Regions from separate parts of the Homo sapiens genome. Here region 1 is linked to region 2. Evidence: promoter capture Hi-C in human tissues and cell types (Jung and others, 2019). All regions are on one chromosome and are shown on one strand. The core of a region is centred on a gene start or on the middle of the fragment in contact, and the rest is flanking DNA. Distances in the headings are between cores, read along the strand shown.

Region 1 (7,314 bases), core at 2,469-4,968, 210 kb after region 2:
GGAAAAGGAAGCCAAATTCTCATCTCGGATAAAGGCAGGGCCATGGGCCGGTGCCCTGTTCTTCCAAGTGTGGTCCCTAGACAAGCAGCATCCATATCACTTGGGAGCCTGTTAGAGATGCAGGGTTTTAGACCCCCCTGTAGAGTCAGAATCTGTACTGGAACAACCTCCCAGGTGACCTGTGTGCTGTATGTTCAAGTTTGAAGAGCACTGGGCTCCCCAGCTGCCCAAGGCTCACCCCATCCTTACTTGTGACTGGCCAAGTAAGGTCCTTGCCTCTGTCCTTCAGGTGGGCACCATCCAAACCTGTACTCCAGACCCCCACCATGAAGACAGGCCTTCCCCTAACCTGCTTGGGGCAGAAGAGCAAGTACTCCTTAGCAATGCAGACCAGGAAGTACGGGTCCAGCTTTTCAAAGTACTCAGAGCCAAGAGGGATGCCTTGCATGCTGGAGAAGTGAAGCTCCACTGCCTCCTTCAGGAGCGCTGTGGTCTCTTCCTCCCCCTTGTGCTTCCTGGACATCAGGAGGGCTTGGAGGAAAATTAGCACCTGTGGAAGAGAGGACCGAGTCTCAGTGCCAATGTCAGCCTGGGCAGATTTGGTAGGCAAGGGCAAAGTGAAGGTCCAGACCACCTTGCATGCTTTCTATTGGAAAGTGGGGGTGGGAGGACAGCAGAGGACATCATCCTGGAGCAACCCATACCCCCAGGGAGCTCTGACCTCAGACTTCCCAAGGGACTTCTGCACCTCCTTCAGGAATTCCAGCCGGTACTCAGCTTCCTCCAGGTGGCCTTCTAAGATATGACACAAGATGATCCCTGTAAATGGGACAAAACAATGATGAGCAGCTAACACTGAAGCATAGCCAGCAGCCCATCAGGTCAAGGGGCATGGATAAGACAGTGGAAGGAAGATGTCTCAGTGTAGGGGATCTTTTCCAACATTTCTACAAACTTAAAGAGAAATACATGCTCATGCTCAAGAATTCAAACCCTAAGGCAATACAGAAAAACATCCCTAGCTCATGTTCTGGCTGTAACAATGTCTCTCTCTAGAGATAACCACTAGGAACAATTTGAGGTATAATACGTTACTACTATATAGACACCTCAGACATATATATGTACACATGAGCATACCAATGGGTTTAAAAACACACACATACACAAAGGGAATCAAATTTCACATACACCATTCTACAATCTGCTTTTTTTTTTTTTTTGAGACGGAGTTTCGCTCTTTTGCCCAGGCTGGAGTGAAGTGGCACGATCTTGGCTCACTGCAACCTCCGCCCCTCAGGTTCAAGCAATTCTCCTGCCTCAGCCTCCTGAGTAGCTGGGATTACAGGCATGGCCACCACGCCCGGCTAATTTTTGTATTTTTAGTAGAAACGGGGTTTTGCCATGTTGGCCAGGCTGGTCTCTAACTCCTGACCTCAGGTGATCCACTCACCTTAGCCTCCCAAAGTGCTAGGATTACAGGCATGAGCCACTGCGCCTGGCCACAATCTGCTTTTTAAAATTTGTATATGATAGTCATATTTTCCCATCTCTTCATACAAATCTACCCCATTTTCTTTGATGACAACACAATGTTTTACTGTGGATGTAACAATTTATTGCCCTACTAATTATTTAACTATTGCCCTACTGAAGGACATCTAATTTCACATTTACTTTATTTTTGGTATTTAAATACTACAATGCTATGATGAACATTTACATAAGTTCAAATTCCTGAGGGAGAGCTGATGGGTCATAGAGCACATATATTTAAAATACTGATAGATAAGGTCAACTTGCCCTCAAAGATACTTGAACTTATATTACTATCAAGAATTTAAAATATCCTTTCTTCATAACCTCAAACGTGCTGTAATTTTTGCCAGTCTGAAACATGAAAAGTAACTAGTTTTCATTTAACACCTTTTTTAACTATTAGGGAGAATGAACACCTGTTCATATTTCCAATATAGCCTTTTCCTTTCTACTGTGAATATTCTGTTCACAGCCTGCCTGGTTTTTTTGGGGGGGGTGATTTTTTTTCTCTTTATGTTTTATTAACCCTTTGTTGCAAGTGTTTTCTATTAGTTTGCCATTTATCCTTTAACTATTTTTACAGTACCTTGTCATGTAGTAATTTTAAGCTTTTATGTAGTCAAATAGGTAAAATATTCTCCTTTGCAGCTTCTATTTTTTTTTTCCATGTAGAGCCACAAAGCCAAACTTTGCAGCTTCCAAGTTTGGAGTTAGGCTTAGAATCCCCAGGGAAACCCATGTTTCATTTAATTTTTATGTTTAATACTTAATTCATCTGAAATTTAAGTATGGTGTAAGATGAGAACTTACCTTTTTTTCTTTTTCATAATGGATAGCAGGGTATCCAACTAGGAGTTGGTGAACAACCTATTAGTTTGAAATAAGGCCTGTTACATCCCATTTATCTATTTGCTTATCCCAGTCAGTGCTGGCCTCAAAGGGACTTAATTACTGTAGTTTTGTGATATGTTTTGATGTTGGGAGGACAAATCTCATCTGTTTGAAGCAAGCTATTCTACTTGCACAGGTATTTCTTTGCTACTTTGGTATATTTATTCTTGACTGTCTTCCTCATCACCATCTTAGTTTTCAGTTATATCCATCCCACTATTAGGCCCATTTATGAAATTTTTTACCTTACAATAATATTTTTTATTTTTGGCAACTCTTTTTTGTTCCTGTACCTTTTTCACAGTAGCATGTTCTTTACTTATTGACATAATAGCCTCTCCAAACACTGAAGGTGTTTTGGGAGGAAAAGTCTTTTCTGTACTAGCCTTAACTCTGCTCCTCAGAGGGCTACTGCTTTGCATGTTCCACTCGGCCAACCTTTCAGACTGCTAGCAGATTTATAAAGGAAGGGCAGCAACTAGGCACATTTTACACACTGTTAAGGTCACTGATTTTGTCAGACTGGGCAGAAAATATGGTGACTCCAGGACATACAGGTGGGCTCAGCTTGGACTGGGAGAGTGGGACAGACATCCTGACCAGTGGACTTTCCTCTGGCTAACCACTGGGACTCTGCCCCTTGAAGGAGGAAGTAGGGAAGGACTCAACCTGGTGGAAGAACATTCTAGGGAATTTTGCTTTTGTGCTGAGCAGCCAAGTCCTTTTGTCCTTCATGTCCCTGGTTATGGTGGGAAATCATCCAGAGCAGTGCTCCTCTCCCTCCTGCCCCAACACCCAATACACACCTCCTGGATTCTAGCCTCTGGCCAAGGCATGATTCCAGTAATCCTCCTATTATCGCTCTCACTGCCCCGTGGCATGCTTTCACACTCAGCCTCTGGTGACCCTGAGCTCGTCTTTTTTAGTTTTTGTTTTTCCTGGAACTCTTTGGGGAAAGCTGGTCTACTAAATTCTTTAGCTAACCCATCTCTGCCTATGTTTGCTTATGGGTTTCTAGATCTGCTTCGAATTCCCATGTATTTGACACCATTTGCCTTCCATCTTCTAGAAATGTGAAATTCTTCAAAGTTTCTGGTCCACGCTGCTATGTACTCTTTTTTTTTTTTTTCTTTCTTTTTTTGAGGTGGAGTCTCACTCTGTGGCCCAGGCTGCAGTGCAGTGGTGTCATCTCGGCTCATATCAACCTCCATCTCCCGGGTTCAAGTGATTCTCCGGCCTCAGCGTCCCAAATAGCTGGGATTACAGGTGTCCTCCACCACACCTGGCTAATTTTTGTGTGTTTTTAGTAGAGATGGGGTTTCATCATGTTGGCCAGGCTGGTCTCGAATTCCTGACCTCAAATGACCTGCCCACCTCAGCCTCCCAAAGTATTGGGATTACAGGCGTGAGCCATCACGCCTGGCTCATTACCTTTTAAAGATATCTTTCATTATTTTCATGGGATTTGGGGACAGAGGGAAAGCATGGATTTGAGGGGGTCAGCCTGACATGTTGAACCAGAAGTCAAGATAAACTACTCTGATAAATGTGCTATGCAGATGAGGAGCCTGGAGTTTAGAAAGGAGAAGTGACTTGGCCCCAAACACATAGCCCCTCAGAGCCAGGGCAAGAGTCGGCCTGCCTTGAGCACTGGACCACACAACTTCCTCAACCCAAACCAAATACTGCCACTTCAGAGTTCACCACAGACCATGGAATAGGGGGCTTTAAAAAATGCGTAAAATGGAAATGGCACTGTAGAAAGTTCATTTGGCATTTATAGAAAAGATTTTTAAAGTCACCTGGACAGACAGGGAAATATATAATTCTCAGAGCTACTCTTTTTGGTGGTTTTTCAGCTCAGAGCCCTGAAGGAGGGTCTACAGAGGTGAATCTAGAGGCTCTGCATGTGGGGACTGGTGGTGAGTAGAACTGCCTCCAACCCCGGCCTGGGCAGCCTGAGAAGAGGCAGGGCCCACTGAGTATAAGGTTCAGCCTGTCAGTCTTCTGGGGCAGTCAGTGTAGACAGACATTGGAGGTCTGGTGGAGATCAGAGTGACTCTGATCATACCTCTGAGCATTGCTGTGCCTCTTACATCTATACTTGTGGATTCCCAGAAAGATACCCCATCATACATTGTACCCCAAAATTCACATACCCTTCAAGGAGAATGCTTTCCAGCACCTCTCTTCTGGACCCATGGAAGCTGCCCGGTTTGGCTCCCGACACCCATCCCTGAGCCCTGCCACACCTGCATATACCTGTCAAACCAGCCATGCCATCCTTGTCCAGTTTCATGGCTTCTGAATACCACAGCAAGGCCTCTTTCACTTGGTTCTTCAGGATGAAGAGATAGCCCAGTTCTGTGGCCACATGGACATACGAGGGGGTGGCCATGAAGGTGCGCTCGATGAAACTACACACTAGCCCTAGAATCACCTGGTGACTCCCACACTGCAAGAAACAGGAAGGTGGGAATTGGGAAACCAGTCAGTCCAGCCTGTATGAGCAAGGTCATGTCAGAAACGGGGGACACTTTGGTAGGCAGGGCTGGTAGGCCCAGGAGAGCCAAGAGGTACCGTGTGTCTAGGCAGCTGGGTCTGTGTTGCTGTCTGGCTCCCAAGGAACCTCTCACTGGCCACAACTGTGGAACCTGCCTCTAGCCACAGGGTCCTCTGAGGGACCTATCCCCTGTCTGGTCACAGTAATTGGTCTAAGGAGTCACCAAGAGGTTTTTCAAAAATTGAAGCTGAATGTGTCCAGTAATAAGAAGTGGCCCCAAAGGCTGCCATCAGCCATGTTCCCTGCCATGTGTGGAGAACAAGGCAGAGAGAATCAGACATACAGAGGGAGAGATGGTGCCTATGCAACTCCACAGTTCTGGTTCCTGGGGTCCCAGAGTTGCCTTCATTCTTACAGCAACTACTTCTAGTAAATCTTGCTTTGGGGCTGAAGGGTCTGAAAGAGATACAGATTTGTTGGCAACCTGGTCTAGTTGAACCTTCCCTGATGTTTGAGAGGCCTAGGCAGGCCAGCCTTCTCAGGTCACCTCCACAAAAAAGAATATGGGAGATGGGCACCCAGGCACTAGAGGCTAGAGCTGGGTGTGGCTCTGCTGCATAACAGCTGCAATACCACCCGCTTTCCCCAAATAAGGCACAGCCCACTCCAAAAGCACTTTCAGACCCCGTCTCCCTGATCTTCATGGCATCTCTGAGGGGGCACCTAGGCTAAGGATGTAGAACCCACATGTCACAGTTATCAGCCAGAGGCAAGTAGGCACAGCAGGATATGAGCCACTACCCTAAAGGACAAGTTTGAGCCAGAAGGGAGGGGTAAGGCACTCAAGGAGCTTCCTGGGGGAGCACAGTTCTCCTCTAAGGAAAGCAGGGAGAAGCACCATTTCAGAACCAGGAAAGAACCTTCTTACCAGTCGGCTAACCACAATAATTTTTTTAAGATGGAGGCTTGGATTTTCGGGTTCCCTTGTCTCTAGTGCCTTAATCAGATTTCTAACGTGATTGGTAGCCTGCAGGGACAAAACAGAGAATGTCAACATGCAAGGTGCAAGGTCAGAGTTGCGCCGTGGTTCTCAACCCTGACTGCATAGTAGCATCAGCTGGGAGATTTAAAAAATGCCCATGCCCAGGCACAACCCCCCAGAAATTCAGATTTAAGTGAATTGGAGTGGTCCAGGCATCAGAATTACTTCAAAGGCCTATAAGTGGAACTCCTGGGGACATTATTCACCCAGAGCTGGCACTGCCCCTCTGTTCTTGAATTTGTTTTTTTTTTTTCTTTTTTTTCTTTTTTTTTTTTGACTGCTCCTTATGGAGCAGGGCTAACCCATAGAGTAGCCCTGTTCCTGAGTTTGTGAAGAGAAGTTGCCTTTTCAGACCCACCCAGGCAGAGCCAGGAGCTAGCCCTCACTGTGTCCACAGTGCAGCCTGCCAGGCCAGCAGCAAACTAACTAGTGCTGGCCCAGAAGCCTCTGCTCCATTTTGACATGAATCAAATGTAAGTCAGTATAACTATTCGAACTTTCCAAACCTTCCTGTCCAACACATGAAAGGTTAGAAAGGTTAGGCAATTGGTCTGAGGTCACCCAGCCACCTAGGTCACTGACAGATTCCAAAGCTTAGGTTCTTTCCCACTCCCCACCCAGGAGTAAGGAATTCTTAGTTCCCAGCTGCAGAGAAGTGCCAAAAGCAAAACCAAGGATGGTATGGGTCCACTCTGTTCAGTAAGTATGAACAAAATTAGAACTGGGTAGCCAGCCCGGGGTCGGTGGGGAGGTCCCAAGGTTTGAAGTGGGAGTAAAAAAGGGGCTAATGCTAAATCTCAGTTAGCTAAATGCTAAGTCTGCCCCTGGGATTAACTTTCAGGCCAGGCCCCAGGAAGGCCTGCTTAGGGATCTGGAGTCACAGGGAGCTGAGGATAGTCCTATTCTCTTATTCCTACCCAGAGACGAAAAGGGCTGGGGCCTTTTTCTCCCAAATACGGACTCTCCCCTCTACCTCACCCCATCCCACAAAATCCACAATCTCAGAGCTGTGCAGAAGAAACCAGAAGCTTCCCCTTCCCACCATGACCCCTTAGAGACTCCTGGTTTGCCATGCTCTCCATAGAGGCAATATATTTCACTGATCTAAAAGGCAATGCTTTGGCTAAAAACAAACCTTTCTGAAAATGAGAACCTGTCTGGGTATTGAGGTTTCACTAAGAATTCTAGGTGTTTCTGACTGCATTTGAGGGCTATTTTTGGTTTCTTTGGAAAACTACAAGACTTACGAGCATGTTTGGGGCCCAGTATTACCTGGCCAATGCCTGAGCAGTTCCAACTATCCCCTAAAAAAAAGGCATTTCCTGAATTCAGAAATACT
Region 2 (7,342 bases), core at 519-3,018:
GAAAACAGAAACAAAACCAAAAAAGGCAGGGCCCTAATCTGATAGAACTAGTGTCCTTAACAGAAGAGAAAGAGACACAAGAAATTTTGCTCCCCTTGTGCATGGAGTAAAGACCATGTGAGGACACAGCAAGAAGGCTGAAATCAGCAAGCCAGGTAGAGAAGCCTCACCAGAAATCAACTGCATTGGCAGCTTGGTCTTGGACTTCCAGCCTTTAGAAGTATGTTAAACAACACTTTCTGTTGTTTAAGCCACTCAGTCTATTGTATTTTGTTATGTAAACCAAAGGGAGTCAGCTGAGATGAGAAAAGCCAAAACTTACAAAGAAAATGTAAATACCCATAGTTCCATCACCTAGAATTAGCAGCTGCTAACATATTCTCACAATGCTTTGGGTTATTTTTTTTTCCTTCCTTCCTTCTTTTTTTCTCCCTTCTTTTCTCCCTCCCTCATTCCCTCTCTTCCTTCCATCCCTCTTTCTTTTTTTATTTCTGATGCAATAGAGATGAAGCTAATGTTCCCTTTAACTACACAACTTATCCCCATAACAGAAACAACAACTAAAACCAATTTGGTATGTATCATTCCAAACAATTTCCCCCTGTACTTTTACATATTTATATATATCCATAAACAATATATATTTTTGTGTGTTTTAACTTACATAAATGATATATTGTTTTAACTTACATAAATGATATATTGTTTTTCCCTTTGTATTTTGCTTATTGTTTTAGAGATATATCTGCATGATATTCATCAGTTTATTCTTTTAATTGCTTTCCTAAGCACCAGAAAAAAAATAACTTTATAAATGCAATAGAAAAATGATCCCAATTATACTAGCAATGAAAATTACTAGCATTACTAGGAATAAAACTAATAAAAATGCAATTCAGTTACATAAAAATTATAAAACTTGACAATTCTTCTCAAATTGATATATACATTCAATGCAATTTCAATCCAGACATATTTTTCCAAGGCATTTGTTTGCTTTACATTCAGACACCCCTCTCCACTCTGCTACTTTTCTATGATTTGAAAGCACAAGCAAGCAAGCAAGCAATTTATTTATTTTTTTAGAGACAGGGTCTCACTATGTTGCCCAAGCTGGAGTACAGTAGTTATACGCAGGTGTGATCTCACACAAAGCCCTGACTTCTGGGCGCAAGCAATCCTTCTGCCCCAGGCTCTTGAGTAGCTGGGACTACAGGCACCCACCAGCAACTTCTTTAGTCATATGAAAGTTTGCTCGCTGGCTTCTTTCCTTAAGAACAGCACCCAGGTGTCCTTCAGTTACCTGATAGAAGCCCTGTACCCAGCACAAGGACAGATCTTCCCAGATGCCTGGTATTATAAAGGATCTTCTCTTATCTACCTTCCCACTCTTGTAGGAGTTTTCACTCTCTCCTAAAGGCCTGCAGAGAATATGGCACGGTTTGCTCTCCTCAGCCAGAGCATGGGCAGCCACTAAGACACATGCATGTTTGTGGGCTCTGAGGAAATGCAAAGATTTAAAAAAAAATTTTACTTCTTGTGCTAGACCTCTGAAATTTTGGTCTTCCCTTTGCCTATCCTCTAAAGATATAAAAATGCCCCTGCCTACTCATGCCCTTCTTCCCCAAGGATGCTTGTAGCACATACCTTAGTGACAGCCTTTGTTCTGGAGGTTTCAGTGTTGCCAATTCCTTCTTCACAAAGTCTGTATCCTCATGTGAGTGCAGCTCAATGAGCAGCAGCCTCTCTGGAGGTATCCTCCCACTACAAACAGCAGATGGAGAGAAGGCAGTCTCTTGAGGGCTCCACCCTCACACCTAGTCACCTAAAGGGAGGCAATGAGGGTTAAATGAGATCGTAAGGCTGAGGCCCTAATTCAATAGGACTGGTGTCTCCTAGGTAGAGGAATACACACCAGAGCTCACTCTCTTGCCTCCAGGTGCTCAGAGGAAAGGCCATGTGAGGACACAGGGAGAAGGCAGCCATCTGCAAGTAAGGTAAATAGGCATCACCAGAAACCAGACTTGTGGGCACCTTGGTCTTCTAGCCTCCAGAACTGTGGGAAAACAAATTTCTGTTGTTTAAGCTACTCAGCCTGTAGTATTTTGTTATGGAAGTCCTAGCAGACTAATACAGGGGTTAATGGGAATTTTCTGTGTTGTCTACCTAGATTTTCTGTAAACTTAAAACCTCTAAAAAATAGTCTATTAAAATTTTTAATTGAAATCAGTATTAAAATGAAATCATAATTCCATTATTATTTTGAAGTTATACAATTTATACCAGGACTGGCTTTCCTCCATGGTATGTAGCATACACAAATGTGTGTGTATGTTGTATGCATGTACATATATTAACTCTTTCAACAGGAATGCCATTTGAAAATCACTTTAAGTCAGTTTCCCCTATCCCAGGAGAGTGAACATGAGTCCCAGAATTGTTGGGAGGAAATGACAGAAGTTCCAGAATCTCCTCATCTCCAACCCACTCATTCCTGGAGAAATGCAGTAGAAATATCTGCTGGATGCCAGGTACGGTGGCTCACATCTGTAATTCCAGCATTTTGGGAGGCTGAGGCAGGAGGATTGCTTGAGCCTAGGAGTTCAAGACCAGACTGGTCAACATAGCAAGACCCCATCTCATACGGTTTGGCTCTGTGTCCCTACCCAAATCTCATCTTGAATTATAATCCTCATAATCCCCATGTGTCAAGGGCGGGACCAGGTGGAGTTAATTGGATCATGGGGGCAGTTTCCCCCATGCTGTTCTCATGATAGTGAGTGAGTCTCAAGAGATCTGATCTGATGGTTTTATAAACACCTGGCATTTTCCCTGCTTGCACTCACTCCATCCTGCCGACCTGTGAAAAATGTGCCTGCTTCTCCTTTGCCTTCCACCATGATTATAAGTTTCTTGAGGCCTCCCCAGCAATGCAGAACTGTGAGTCAATTTAACCTCTTTCCTTTATAAATTATCCAATCTTGGTCTTTCTTTATAGCAGTGTGACAACGGACTAATGCATCATCTGTACAAATTTTTTAAATAAAATTAGCCAGGCATGGTGGCATGCACTTGTAGTCCCAGCTACTTGGGAAGCTAAAGTGGGAGGATCACTTGAGTCCAGCAGTTTGAGGTGAGCTATGATTGAGCCACTGACCTGTCTCTAAAGAAAAAATAAAAGGAAATATCTGCTGGTACCTGAATTCATACCTCGGCAAATTCCCCTCACCATCATTCATGTTTTGACGCAGTTTGGGGAAAACCCAGTTCCTTTATGAGAGTTTTGTATGTGATAAGCAAAGATCAATGGTGAGCCGATGGAGAACTCAGGGCCCTCAGGTATTACTAGTCCATGTCATGATGGTGGGAACTATGGGACCGCCTCATCAGTGAGGGCAGGTGTGGGGGAAGCCACCTTCCCCTCCAAAGCCCAGTTAAGCAAGGCCTGAGGGACTAAGGTGGAATTCCCCCCAAGCCCAGTTTCTAGTGCAAGCTGATCTAAACCCCAAACAGTCTCTATCTTCAGTTCCTGAGGATTCTTTTATCAGCTGCTCCTCCATACTTGGCACAGTGCTTAGTGCACAGCAACTTCTTAATAAATAGTTGAACAGAGAGAATGAGGCAAGGTGGAGATGTGGAGTCTGGTGAAGAGTTGGAGGAAAGGACTGAACAGCCAGAATGGAAGGATGCTCCTCTTTTTGTGTTTCCTGAGCCAGATCTGAGGGCTGGTGTGGGCCCCTGCAGGACTGGACACTTGCCTGCTGTCACCTGTGTATTTGTTTCCTGTGGCTGCTGTAACAAATTACCACCAACTTAGTGGCTTAGAGCAGCAGACGTGTATTCTCCCCCAGTTCTGGAGGCCAGATGGCTATAATCCAGCAGGGCTGCCTCCTTCTGGGTGCTTGAAGGGCGAATTGTTCCTTGCCACTTCTGGCTCTTGGTGGCTGCCCCAGCAAACCTGGGGCTTGTGGCCACATCACTTTAATCTCCACCATCTTCACATCTCCTTCTCCACTGTGTGTCTGCATCAGATCTCACCCACCTCTGATTTATGAGAACACTCATGATTGGATTTAGGATCCGTCCAGGTAATCCATGATAATCTCCCCATCTCAAAATCCTTGACTTAATCACATCTGCAGAAGCTCTTCTCCCAAGTAAAGTAACATTTACAAGTTCTAGGAATTAAGACTTCATCTCTTTGGTTGACCATTATTCAACCCACAACATCCTGACTCGGAAGACAGACAAACTGTGACATAGTTAACTGACAAGCCTTGGTTCCTCACCTTTGGGCCTACATCAGGGATTCAGGCATTCTATGGGAAGGCAGCAGAAACCAAACTACAAAACCAAAGTAGTGTGACCCCTCCAGAGCCAATGGCCTCTCCAAGTCTACCTTCTGCTGCACATTCAATGGGTTCTGAAAATGCTGGATCAGATCCATTGGGGACATCCCATCTAAATTCAATTCTACTGGGTCCCTCCAAAGGTTCAAAAGACTGTATTTCACTTCAGAGGGAAAAAGAGACTAGCAGCATATTTGACCTCCTTTCCTCCAAAATAAAGAGAAAGAAAAAACTGTATTTAAATAAACCCTAAGTGTAAATGTAGAAATTACTACTATCACAGATATTTGTCATAGAGTATTAGGGCAGAAAATGGCCTCAGGTCATACAGCTGATGTCTCTCTCCCTCTCTTTCTTTCAAAGTAGTAATATTTAAGTCCAGAGAGGCAAAGTGGCTCACCCAAAATCACACAGTAATTTGGTGGTAGAGCCAGAGCCAGAACTCAGGTCTTCCGAGGCACAGCTGAGGGTGCTTTTCTTACTGCACCACATTCAAAATTCTCGTGCAATAACATTATGAAGAGTTGTGGATAAGACTAGAGGAAGTCTTTCTGTATTTTCTATAGTTTTCAACTATATGTCAGTCCCTCAGTGATTTGTAGGGTAAAAATGCATTTGCTTAACGAAAAGTGTTAGACAAAGCCAGAGTTTAAGAAAAGCTCGTGTGTTATTAATAGTAAAGCCAGTTTTGCTGTCTATATAATTTAATTTCCCATATGGATTACAAAAAAGAGTAACAAGAAACAGATTTTCTTTTTTACTACTATTTATTTCCTTCATAAGAGTAATCATGACAATTGTCAGAATACAAAAAAAGGTATCATCATAATTTTGATTTGAAGGGTTGAATATGGAGAAATGTGGTTAATAACGTATTTTTAGTTGCATTTTCAGGAAATTCATATTACCTTGTGTGCCAGAATAATTGATTAGATCTCTTAGTGGTTTGTTTTGTTTTGTTTGAGACGGAGTTTTGCTCTTGTTGCCCAGGCTGGAGTACAATGGTGCAATCTTAGCTCACTGCAACCTCTGCCTCCTGGGTTCAAGTGATTCTCCTGTCTCAGCCTCCCTAGTAGCTGGGATTATAGGCGCCCGCCACTACACCTGGCTAATTTTTGGTATTTTTAGTAGAAACGGGGTTTTACCATGTTGGCCAGGCTGGTCTCTAACTCATGACCTCAGGTGATCCACCCGCCTCAGCCTCCCAAAGTGCTGGGATTACAGGCATGAACCACTGTGCCCGGCCTTTCTTTTTTTTTTTTTTTTTGAGACAGAGTCTTCCTCTGTGGCCCAGGCTGGACTGTAGCAGCATGATCTCAACTCACTGCAGCCTCCACCTCCCAGGTTCAAGAGACTCTCCTGCCTCAGCCTCCAGATTGGCTGGGACTACAGGTGCATGCCACCATGCCCGGCTAAATCTCTTAGCCTTTTGGTGGTGCTTTATTCCCAGAATTTATCTTCTACAAACATGCTCACCACCTTTTTCCAAGGCTACAAGCACTGAAGTGCCTAGCATATTCTCAGAACTGCTTTTGCCATTAGAAGGGATAAAAAAATGAAATTTATGATTTCCTCACTTAAGGAGCTTAGCAATCATGGCACTTTCATCACAGGAGTCCCAGGAGGTGATGGTTCTCTGAAGAATGATGAATAATGAAAGGAAAAAGTATCACTGTGAAAACCATGTAGAAACCCAGAGAAATCTTTATGATTAAGGTGGCATGTATACTATGACTGTCTCTTTGCGAAGCATGGATGAGTGTGGGTACATCCAGAATGAAATAGGCAGAAATTAAAACAATCTTATATTAGGTTATTTCTTTTTATTCTTAAAATTCTCTTTAATAAAGGCACGCTGTCATTTCAATTACAAGTTTTTAGGAAATAGAAAATTGCTATCAAGCACTAATTCAAAGCAAACACATTTTCATGTTGTGAATGATTTATTGATTAAATTGGAGATCAATTTAATAAGCCACACTTGTAATTCTCTCCCATTGACTTGCAAAAAGCACCTGCATTGCCAAAAGTGGTACACAAAGGAAGCCTGAGTTTATCATTATGAAGTTGGGGAGAAAAAAAAAATATGAGGCCAAAGTAGTGTGAGTCCTCCAGAACCAATGGCCTCTCCAAGTCTATCTTATGTTCAGTACCTGGGCCACATGAAAAACTCTTAAGGGGAAACTAGGAAGAGTTCGCCTCTGCCCAGGAAAAATGCTCACAAGTTAAGGGTAAACGTAGAATGTCAAGATACTTCTCTTCTTCACTCCTGATAATATTTACCCTGTTCCTCTGCATAGAAGAGGGGTTTGTGAAATACTGTTTTATTCCCTCTTTTCTTCTCCATCTTGTTACAAGGCCAAATGCATTCATTACTGTGACAGAGGAATACATGAAGGGCTTCAGGAGCAAAAGGGACTCTTGATTCTTCCTGGGTCTTCAGGGTAAGAATGTGGAGGAGATCAGGGAGCTGGCCTTAAAGAATGGGTGTGCCTTCCAGCCGGGAGTGAAGCATTAAGAAAAGCATTTCTTGGAGTCTCCAGAGCCTTGTCCCAACTGGGCTACCACATTGCTCTGGAAACCTGGGAAAGCCACTAAACCTTTCTGAGTTTTAGTCCAGTGCTACTTTAATGTGTACCCAAATCACCTGGGACTCCTGTTAAGCAGCAGATTATGACTTAGCAGTTCTGAGCCTTGAGATTCTGCACGTCTAACAAGCTCCCAGGTGATGTTAGTGTGGCTGGTCACATTTTGACAAGGCATTAGGATCTTCGTGTGTAAAATGGGAATAAAGCTTTCATGAGGGTTGGGCGCAGTGGCTCACACCTGTAATTCCAGCACTTTGGGAGGCCAAGGTGGGAGGATTGCTTAAGCCCAGGAGTTTGAGACCAACCTGGCCAATATGGTGAAACTCTGTCTCAACAAAAAATACAAAAAATTAGCTGGGCATGGTGGCACTTACCTGTAGTCCCAGGTGCTCAGGAGGCTGAGGT

The links. The method cuts DNA at HindIII sites, captures the fragments that hold promoters and counts their contacts. A contact is called where the count stands out against the background at its distance.
Region 1: a fragment that was not itself captured here is called in contact with the fragment with the promoter of CCR8 in region 2 in 1 of the 25 tissues and cell types used here (H1 embryonic stem cells).

Annotation. Positions count from the first base shown.
Region 1 is chr3:39,118,568-39,125,881 of GRCh38, reverse strand. It overlaps TTC21A (tetratricopeptide repeat domain 21A), which reads right to left. Exons shown (of 29, transcript NM_001366900.1): 8 at 5,862-5,960; 9 at 4,693-4,885; 10 at 722-819; 11 at 350-550. Among named protein-coding and RNA genes, the nearest start is that of TTC21A, 15 kb to the right of the region's middle. RefSeq lists silencers at 364-539, 2,872-2,931. The HindIII fragment of the contact is 6,136 bases long and covers 651-6,786 here.
Region 2 is chr3:39,324,135-39,331,476 of GRCh38, reverse strand. CCR8 (C-C motif chemokine receptor 8) reads right to left here and starts at 1,768. Exons shown (of 2, transcript NM_005201.4): 1 at 1,648-1,768. RefSeq lists enhancers at 3,097-3,186, 3,537-3,626. The HindIII fragment of the contact is 13,900 bases long and covers 1-7,342 here.